Linked DNA regions of Homo sapiens: all the other regions are linked to region 2. Evidence: promoter capture Hi-C in 16 types of primary human blood cells and fetal thymus (Javierre and others, 2016). All regions are on one chromosome and are shown on one strand. Each heading gives the region's core, a stretch centred on a gene start or on the middle of the fragment in contact. The rest is flanking DNA. Distances are from core to core; before and after follow the strand shown. Region 1 has its middle 210 kb from the start of LINC03007. Region 2 holds the start of NPVF (neuropeptide VF precursor). Region 3 has its middle 230 kb from the start of LINC03007.

Region 1 (3,385 bases), core at 743-3,242, 350 kb before region 2:
TTTTTAATAAATTAAATTGAACAGAATTGACAATTTAAACATTGAGACCCATCCATGTTGTCTAGTCCAGATTCCAAACATAGAGGAATCTGACTGGTCATGCCATTTCCCTTTGAAACAATTATTTTTTTGGAGCAGGGTTATGGAGAGTTAAGGTGACCTCTGATGTTCCGACCTCTTTCACCCTGAGATATCGCAAGATTCAACTGTCTCATTGGGAAGAGCAGATGGTGGAGGGAACTGGGGTAGAGCAGCCCATGGCCAGCCTCCATCACCCTCAGTGATCCAACACTTCTCATTTGACTGAGAAAAGGGCATAAAACCCTGCCCCTCGCAAGTCTTGCCCTGAAAAACTCCCCAAAACAAGCCAGGAGTCCAGGACTTGCACACTGTGTAAATCTCAAAAGTACCCCTGTGTACTATTCATCTTTCTTTCCCTGAACACCAAGCAGTGTCTGACCCATGGCAGGGACTCTGGGACCATCTGCTGAGAGCTCAAGTGAGTGAATGAATCAATGAATGAATGAATAAATGAATGAATGGGGTGCCCTCCCTTGCAAGCAGTTTTGGTGTAGAGAACATGAAATAAACTTTGGAGTCATATTAATTTGGGTTCAAATCCAGGTTTTGTCATTTACTGGCTATTGACTTTGGGCAAACTCCTCAACTTCTGTAAATGTGTTTCTCATATGCAAATAGATGTAATAAAATCAATGTCAAGGGCTCACAATGCCTGTAAAGTGCTTAGTATAACACCTCTAAATGCTCAATAAATTGTAACTACTTCTCTCTTCACTTTCTTCTTTTTCTTTATTTCATCTTTTGAGTTTTAACATTATTAGTAGTAGTATTAAACTCAGATATTCTTCCCATGTGTTAGAACAGCCTAGCTTGAGTTTCTTCACGTGAATCATGCCCTGATAAGTCATATAAATGGTGTTTCTGAACAAAGTCTTTGTTGTTCACTTATAGCCGTTGAATGTGCATACGCTAAGGAAAAAGACCCACTTGAAACAAGCCTTGTAAAGAATGTAATGTTTAAATGTAATGGGCACCTCCCTTCACTTATCTTCTCCCTCATAATTTTTATTGAGCCCTTACAGTGTGCCAAGCCCAGTGCAAAGCTCTTTATGATCCTATGTTTTTCCTAATCTCTAGAACAGCCAGGAAGGTCGATACCAAGGCAATCTTCTTTTACTAATGAGAAAACTGAGGCTCAGAGATGTTAAAAGATTAGGCTAAGAGAATACAACCAGCAGAGCCAGTATCACGAATGTTATGGTGGTCTCCCCAGTATCCATTTCTTCTTCCCCAGGGGCACTTCTGGTTTTGGTGTGATCAGCTCCATCCTCAACTCCATTGAGTGACTGTAATTGATTTAAAACAACTGCGGTAATCCTATTTCTTTTGGACAGTGGTTTTATTGGATAGCTCAGATAAACCAGACCTCAGCTAATCAGTGCAGGACATTACCCTAGTCAATCCGATTGGCGGTGTGACAACTGGCGGAGAGCAGTTGTCCCTCTTTTTCTCCTGCTGGCCCCTAATGAAAAAGCAGTTAGCCTCACTTGCTGCTGGAGCCAGCCTGAAGCTTTGAGAGGAATCGGGGAATCAGTCTGAGGATGGAGCTGAAACAGCAGAGTAGAGAGAAAAGGAACTACTGGTGACATTGAGCTGCTGAACAACCAACCTGGAAGCGTCCTCTGCCTCTGCTCCAATATCAGCTACTAACTTTTGGTGTTAAAGCTGTTTCACTTGTTTTTTCTGTTACTTGCAATCAAAAGCATTCTAAATGACACAGCAAGATTGAAACCCAGGCTTATCTGACCCCCGTGTGAAACCTCATGTCCTACTGCTTTCCACTTTCCTAGCTGATGGTCTTAAACTCACATCTTTATCAGCAGGCAGTAGCACCACTGCTGAGTCAGCCAGTCTGCAGCATTTTTGGGGCAGTTTGTTCTCTGGCTGGAAGAATGAAGTTCAAGAGGTAACTGGTGGACATCTAAGGGCACTCTTTCAAATTGGTGACTGGAGATCATTAGAACAAGCTGAAGGCTATTTCTAGATATAAAGTAATGAAAACCTCTTCTTGGGATCAATCCAGCCAAGGAAGGCTGTGGAGTAGGGCAGATTTCAATGAGGACCAGAGAGGTAAGCAGACAGCTGCAACAGCTGCTTATCAGATCTTGATGTATTGAACATGTAAAAATGCTGAACTCCTCTGACTGCAATCTAATTTGTACAAGTGCTTAGAAAGAACACTGAATTTATCAGAGCTTGAAGTGCAAAATATTAAAAAATAAATCACTGCTAGTAAAATTGTAGAGCCATCAGGAGATCCATTAGAAAAGACAGTTAGCAAAGTCTATTTGAAGCACATTCATCAAGCTTTAAAATCATAGAGAAGCCCTCATTCACATGGGCATCCTTCTAGCCAGCTCAAGAGGACCCTACAATTGAAGGCAGAGAACAGCTGAATCCTCATAATTAGGAATCAGATCATTGGAAATTTTAATAAAAGTGTTTAAAGATATAAAAGAAAATGCTAGCCAATTCGCTGAGATCAGGAGATGATTTCTAACCTACTTTTTCCTGGTCCCTGCCTTCCCATGTGTGCTGTGGCCAGGGCTGCTTTTGGTCTCCACCTGCAGACTTAGCCATGCCCAAGACCAGGTTATACCTCAGTTTCCCAGACCTGGGGTTTAGGTGACTTGTGGCAATTGAGAATCTTCTGTATTGGGTTTCAACCCACCTTGACTACCTGTAATTGAGGGATCCATGTCGACCTCACTGGGAAGCAGCCAACCTTCTTGCTTACCCAATTCAATCCTCAAGCAGGAGTGGGCATCCTAATTCTAACTGATCAATTTCTCTGTTCAGACCTAAAACCTCAAAGGGGCCTAAGCTCCTTGGACTCTGGGCTGTCCTCTGTCCCCCAAATGATGTGTAGTGTCACACTCGAGGCCAGTCTTTTCAGCTCTGCCCATTTCCCCTGGGCCTCCTGAGGAAGTGGGTTCCAGGCCAAGGTCTGGCCCATTCCTCCTCCCATCTGCCCCGTACAATACAAGAAAGAATGAACCTGACTCATTTGTGTGTTAACCATTTATTTGTTTGATTTTTAATAATGAGGCAATATAGCATGATGGTTTAGGAAGCAATGCTTCTCAAACTATGCATGGTGAATGACCAGTGTTTTCTGTTTTCAACCTACCGTAGAATGAAATGTGGGCTCCAGCAGCACCTTGCCCCACATGTGCCTCATGATGCAAATGCGACAGCTCTGAACTCATCTATATCCTATTTAATGAGGTGTGCCCACTGATCATGCACTGGGAAGCCATAAAAGTGTCAAATTATAAAACATTCCAAATGTATACTTTCTATT
Region 2 (3,511 bases), core at 871-3,370:
GACAGAGTCTCGCTCTGTCATCCAGGCTGGAGTGCAATGGTGTGATCTCAGCTCACGGCAACCTCCACCTCCTGGATTCAAGCGATTCTCCTGCCTCAGCCTCCTGAGTAGCTGGGATTACAGGCATGTGCCACCATTCCTGGCTAATTTTTGTATTTTTAGTAGAGATGGAGTTTCAGCATGTTGGCCAGGCTGGTCTTGAACTCCTGACCTCAGGTGATCTGCCAGCCTCAGCCTCCCAAAGTGCTGGGATTACAGACATGAGCCACGTGCCTGGCCCAAGCCCCATATTAATAAGATAATTCTAATTACCTTCCAAACGTGGAGTCCTAACCTGGTGGAGGCAGGGAGCAATTAAGTCATATGTGTATGCTGATTGTCATCAGGAAAATTCTAATGGATCTGCCAACACCCATTAGTAGCAGCACTGAAAACTGGTGAGCTGCTTAATTTGCATTTTATCTGAAAATGACAACTAGATAAAAATACATTTTGAAAAAGACTCAGGCTGATGCCTTCTGCTTTTTCTGGGGTGTGAATTCAGTCAACAAAACTTGCCCCTTGATTCATTCATTTCTCAAAAGTTTGGATCTACTGACTACACACACATACATACACACACACACACACACACACACACACACACACACAAAGAAATTCCATCAGCAGTTTGCAAAAGAACAATTTGGAAGAGAAATGTATTAAATCCTCAGGGAAATTAAACCCAAATAATCCAATAATGGCATTACAAAATTAACGATAGACTATGAATTGAATTAATTGCCTCCTACTGTGGGGTTCTTGGCTACTACAAACCAAAACAAATGAAGCCAATGATGTCAAATGCCTTAAGAGAGACCATAGGCAAGTTTGTATCACAAGAGTTCACCCACTGTGGTTTTTCAACTTTCTGGCTTGTTCTGGAGATCAATATGAAGAAAGATCTTCACTTCTGCCATCTCACGTCTCAAATTACATACGGTAGGTTGGTGAGAGAGGTGAGAGGTGGCACAGTTCTAGACACAACAGAGCAATTTTACAACTCTTTGTGAATTACCTCTAACTGTCTGTGTCTAGAAGTAGCTGGACTGTAGGAAATCCATGCAAGTCTTTTTCTCCTGAAAGGGCTGAAGGGACTGGTGGGAACAAGTAAAGGTGTCTCTAGAACCCAGGCAGTCTAGTGATAAGGCAGATATTTAAGAACAGTCAGCTGCTCCAAAAGAGATTCGCTTTGGCATTTCAGTAAATGCGCATTTATTTCTGTAAATTCTCTTTTAATGTCATGATGACAGCACACCTTTGGCAATACGCGATTACCTAAATAATATGCGTCCTGGGACCAATAGAGTTAGCATGTGTATGACTTACCAAGCCCCTGCTAGTCTCCCTAAGGACTTTGAGAGGGAAGGTAGGATGCAGCATCTTGATAGAAAGTTTTGGTGATTGACACAGCTTTACCAAATAAGACCCATAGAGCAAATACAGAGGGCCTGACTGCCTCCAGCTTCTCCTGAGACGCCAGTTTGTCAAAATGCCTATCAAGTATTTGCTCATATACACATCCTTCATGTTACGGCTAACATTGACCCCTGAAGCTTTTTAATAACCAAACAGCATTTTACAAAAAAACTAATTCATGGCATTTTGTTGGGATATTATAATTTTTTTCACATTCTTAATTTTGCTTGACATTTTGAAAATACTACGCCTAACTCTTTTGTGCAGATTAAAAAAAAAAAAACATAGCTAGCATGGATTGAATACTTCCTTTTCCTTCCCTCAAGAATTGACACAAACACCAAAAACAAAATACTTTTTGTTTAAGCTTAGAGAAATGAAGCATTCTGTCTGTTTGGAATCTTAATTACTATCCCCCCAAACTTACCTAATTAGAAGCTCTTTTATAATGAGGAAAATTATTTTCAAAGTTAATGAATTTGCAAGCACAAACATTGCTGTCTTCCCAGAATGAATTATTCACATTCCTTACATGCATATTTTAGTTGTACACTCTAATTAATATTAGTACTTAAAATGTGTGAGATTGATTTCACTGTTTAAAAAAAACTTTCCTTTGTTTTTAGACGATATAAAAACACCACAATTTTTTTCTCCTCTCATAAACATTGGGCTGCACATAGAGACTTAATTTTAGATTTAGACAAAATGGAAATTATTTCATCAAAACTATTCATTTTATTGACTTTAGCCACTTCAAGCTTGTTAACATCAAACATTTTTTGTGCAGATGAATTAGTGATGTCCAATCTTCACAGCAAAGAAAATTATGACAAATATTCTGAGGTAAGTTTTTTAAATCTCTCTAATGTGAGTAGCATTAATTACATAATATTAATCCTAAGTCTAATGATTTTGTAAAGACTAAGAAGTAAGTTGGTGTGTACTCTGTTTTTTTGTGAAATTTCAGCCTTCCTCTGACAATGTATAAATGTCACTTGTTTATTTAGCACGACAGCAATCAGGCTGGCCTCTGTCATGACAATTGTACTGGTGAGTATGGTACTTAGCAAGCATACAGCGCATTAATAATTTTCAATCAACTCACAAGTGCATATTTGTAATAAATGGTTGGCAGAAATAAGATTTGGGTACATTTCAGCTGGACATTCAAATTGTTTTAAACTACAAACAAACAAACAAAAAACACATTTCTTTTGGGCTTAGCAATTACAAACTGGCCAATGTGTACTAAATCTATATCTTAGTAAAGTGTTTACCTGTAGATGGTAAAATTGCAAATTGTTTTTATTTTCTTTTATGTGTTTTCCAAATCTGATGAAATTAGCGTGTATACTCATTTTACTCAAGGGATAATCAGAAAACAATCATTTAAAAATTTCCATATGGACAAGCTCCTATGGTAAAGACTAAATCTAATTAAATATTCTCTGTATTTGAGATGGTTCCTACAAAGTTGGCATACTTGTGATGCAGTAACCCATAAACCAATGAGTTCTTTGCTAAAAATGTATTTTATATTCTAATAAAAATGCAATTGGTTTCTTGAGAAAGCTTTAGAGTGGTACCCTGAGTAAGATAGAATAAAAAAGAAATCCACTGGGCCTTCTACAACTATACCCCAAAACCTGGCCAGCATCTCTGTTTTGATGTACCGTGTTTCCATGTGCCACTTTGGCCTTTAAAGAGAAACATGAAAAATGAGTGGGAGGTTTCTCTAAAATCAAATTATAAAAATATATAAAATATTCCATAAGCAACATGAATCAAAAAAACCAAAAGAGAATAACTGCAGTAAAATAAACTTTTGCCACATTTCAGTACTTCATTATGTTCCTGCTGCTTGAACTCATTGCTGTATTCACTATATATATTTTATAAATATTTTATGGTTGTCTTACAATAGTCTAGGGACAGAGAAACTATATTGCTTTAAAAAGCTTAATACAAATCATTTAAAAATTCTGCACATATGAACACAAACTTTGTTTATAGCTTTAACAATTCTGCAGATTAAAGTCTAGATTTAAGT
Region 3 (3,304 bases), core at 767-3,266, 330 kb before region 2:
ACATATTAGAGAAGCACATACATATATTATGTCACAGTTTGGTTTTATGAAAATATTTTAATAACTCCATTTTAATATAACTGATTTTCTTTTTAATCTCATGTATGTTATTTTATACATTAAAAACATGGGTCTGAGAAGAAAGTCTCTGAATAGAAAGAGCCCCCTTTCATACGAGGAGGCCTGGGGTATGGTACTTGCTAAACAACTTTGATCAATCCTCCTTTTAATGTATTTCTTTTGGACAATTTAGAAAATTGAGATGAAATTCATATAATATAAAACTTACCATCTTAAAGTGTACACTCACTGGATTTCAGTATATTAACGAGATTTTATAACCATCACTACCATATAATTCCTGAACACTTCATTACCCCAAAGAGAAACCCCATCCCTGTTAGCATCACTCTCCACTCCCCCTGCCCTAGCCCCGGGCAATGACTAATTTGTTTCCTGTCTGTAGGGATTTGCCTATTCTAGACAGTTCTCATCAATGGAACCATATAGTATGTGGCCTTTTCTGTTTTGCTACTTTCACCTAGAATGATATCTTCAAGATTCACTTCTGTTGGAGCATATGTCAGGACTTCATTCCTTTTTATGGCAGAATAATATTCCATTGTATGGATGTACCACATGTGGTTTATGGTTGATCCATTCAGGCCAAGTTCTTTTTCAGCCTTAGGTTCTACCCTTGCAAAATGAAGAGATTAGGGAAGACGATGGCTAAGGATTCTCCCAGCTTTCAAACTATGTTTGTGCACCCTCCTTTTAGCCACTGCTGCGTTGTTTTGCATCAGTCTCTGCTTTGACTCAGTTCTAACTGACCTGTTTTCAAAGATTAGCCTATTCAATTCCTCAGCACGTGTTTTTCAATCCTATCCATTTATATGTATCCCCAAAATTTAGAAACTAGTTTGGAGATCTTACCTAATTTAGGCCTTTTGGGTAGATGTCTTTAATGAAATATTCCCCTTCTTCAATTATCCTTACAACATTACAGCAACCATTCAAACTATAATGAGCTGGGCCTGTGCATAGGAGGCTGAAATTTTTTCAATTACAACCAACAGAAAACTTCTTTTAAATATCTGTGGCATTTCGGACGTCCTTGGGAACAATTCAAGGTCTCTTCCAACGTTCCCACACTGCCATTCTCAATGCTGAATTCCAAAAAAGAATTTTCATCTGTCACTTTAAAATTTCAACAAATCCCAACAGCTTATTTCCACTAAGCCTGTAAAGGATCAGAAAGATAAAGGAGGAAAGGGCTTATGCAGATAAGGAACTATCAATAAATCCTCCAACGGTGTGAGTACAAAGCATTGTTCACAGAGTTCACTTGAGGATCTGTGCCTGCTTCTTAACTCATTGCCTTCACTCTTGTTTTATTAGATTATAGAATAGCACATAGGAACAACAGTCAGAAATAACACAAGGCTTCTTAGGCAGTACAACAAATACATATTTAATATGAGAAGAGAAATTGTAAATTACATACAATGTTATTGGATTTTATGCTCTCTCTCATCCCCCCAATGTATACATTTAAACAGGAATCGCCCGTTTCATCCCCTCACCTTTCTCTGACATCAGGTAAGCCCTGTTTTGCTTTCAGCCTGTTCCTTTGTTACATAACCACACTCTCAGTCCATTCTTTCATTTCCTCCCAAGTGCTTTCCATCACACCGTGGCCTCTGAACCTCACGTTTGAGACACCTCATTACACCCACTGGCACGTGGTGCTGAAGCGTTTACTGTGATCAGCCCAGGACATTCTTTGCTTGCAAATGCTTTAGTTTCTTTGGGAGATAAACCAAGAAATCTGCAAATTCATACCTAATCTGTCATAGCCCTGTCACTCAATTCAATCCTCTCTAAACAAAATCCTTTTGGTGAAAGGAAGACAATACCCCCGTTTCATAAATAATTTTTTCCACCAACCTTAATCTGCTGTCTATGAATATTAATGAGTCTCATCGATTCATGTCTCCATTTTATGTCCTATATTAGACACCTTCCCAGAAAGCTAGCTGTCAAGGTTGCAAAGGAACCTATTTCACTTTCACATTAAATTAGCAAAATGAAAAAGGGCGACTTCTTTTGCTTGTAGGTTTCAAGAGATACCCCTTTAGCCCTACACTCTGATTTTTTTTACATTGTTCTTAAATTACAGGCTGATCTTTGCAGGAAAGAGAGATAGGTCACTTCTTTTTGTTTGTTCCAGGCAAGAGTTGACTGGTAATTGGTGACCTGATACCATGGAAAATTTTCAGAGACCTACAAAATGTGTTTCTGTGTTTTTCTCTTACCGCTAATTGTGACTTCTTTGCTTGCCTTTTTTTCTTTTTCTTTTTTTTTCTTTTTGGTGCCTTCCTGGTTGGGTCTATGTCTGAATTCCTATGAGATTCTGCTTCTTTTGGCTATTCCTGCCTTTAAATATTTTTCCAGGGGACAGCAGATTAAATAGGTTTGTTTCCAGGGCTGCTGCTGGCTTGTAGGGAATCTTTGTGAAAATTAGAAGAGTGGTCTTCTGACAAACTAATTAGAAAATGATGTTATGACATTTCCTCTGAAGGGACACATTAGGAAAAGGAGCCCCTCTCTGCGTGGACATAGCTGTGTACCGGGGTCCAGATTCTGTGGCGGGGGGCGGGCTGCATTTTAACACCCACTCTCTCTCCACGGGGCGCCTTGGTTCATTTCTCTCATTAAATCTTTCACAGGTCTCTCTTAGCTTATTTCTCGGACCCAAGATATTTCTGGGACACCAGAGGCCTACCCTTTATGCTTAGTTCTCTTTCAATTGCAATTCGCTTTTTTTTTCCTTTCCTCTTTTTCACAGCATTCATGTTTAACCTCTTGTTTATCTGCCAGGTTTTACTGAAGCACCTTCACGTTTACAGCATTGAGCAATGTGAATAGGAATTCCAATGACATCCTTGGATTCTTTTGTTTATTTGGTTGGTTGAGCTTTTTAATACATGCTTTCACATGTTTCACAAAGACTTGTTTGCCCATAGCATTCTGTGTTGCTTAAATGACAAACATGGCTAGTTGCCAGAGGGGGCCATGTTATTTGAGGGGACCCTGGAAGCCTGCTCTGGTTCTAAATATACTCCTACCTTACTTTCCACACATGCCTGAAATTCCATCTTAAAGTCATATTCTTTTTGATTAAGTAAATGTAATATAACACACTTAGAAATAACAAAGTTCACTGTATCAATAATTAACACTTTAGTGAGAACTAGCTTATAAAATCCTATTCCAGGGACAGCTATGAGAAAGAAGGAAGGGT

What was found. The method cuts DNA at HindIII sites, captures the fragments that hold promoters and counts their contacts. A CHiCAGO score of 5 or more calls a contact.
Region 1: a contact is called between a fragment that was not itself captured here and the fragment with the promoter of NPVF in region 2, in 1 of 17 cell types (M1 macrophages). The highest score is 5.1, in M1 macrophages.
Region 3: a contact is called between a fragment that was not itself captured here and the fragment with the promoter of NPVF in region 2, in 1 of 17 cell types (monocytes). The highest score is 5.1, in monocytes.

The regions. Positions count from the first base shown.
Region 1 is chr7:25,577,987-25,581,371 of GRCh38, reverse strand. No RefSeq gene overlaps it. Among named protein-coding and RNA genes, the nearest start is that of LINC03007, 210 kb to the left of the region's middle. The HindIII fragment of the contact is 797 bases long and covers 1,594-2,390 here.
Region 2 is chr7:25,227,095-25,230,605 of GRCh38, reverse strand. It overlaps NPVF (neuropeptide VF precursor), which reads left to right and starts at 2,120. Exons shown (of 3, transcript NM_022150.3): 1 at 2,120-2,304. The coding sequence starts at 2,167. The HindIII fragment of the contact is 394 bases long and covers 1,828-2,221 here.
Region 3 is chr7:25,556,128-25,559,431 of GRCh38, reverse strand. No RefSeq gene overlaps it. Among named protein-coding and RNA genes, the nearest start is that of LINC03007, 230 kb to the left of the region's middle. The HindIII fragment of the contact is 9,306 bases long and covers 1-3,304 here.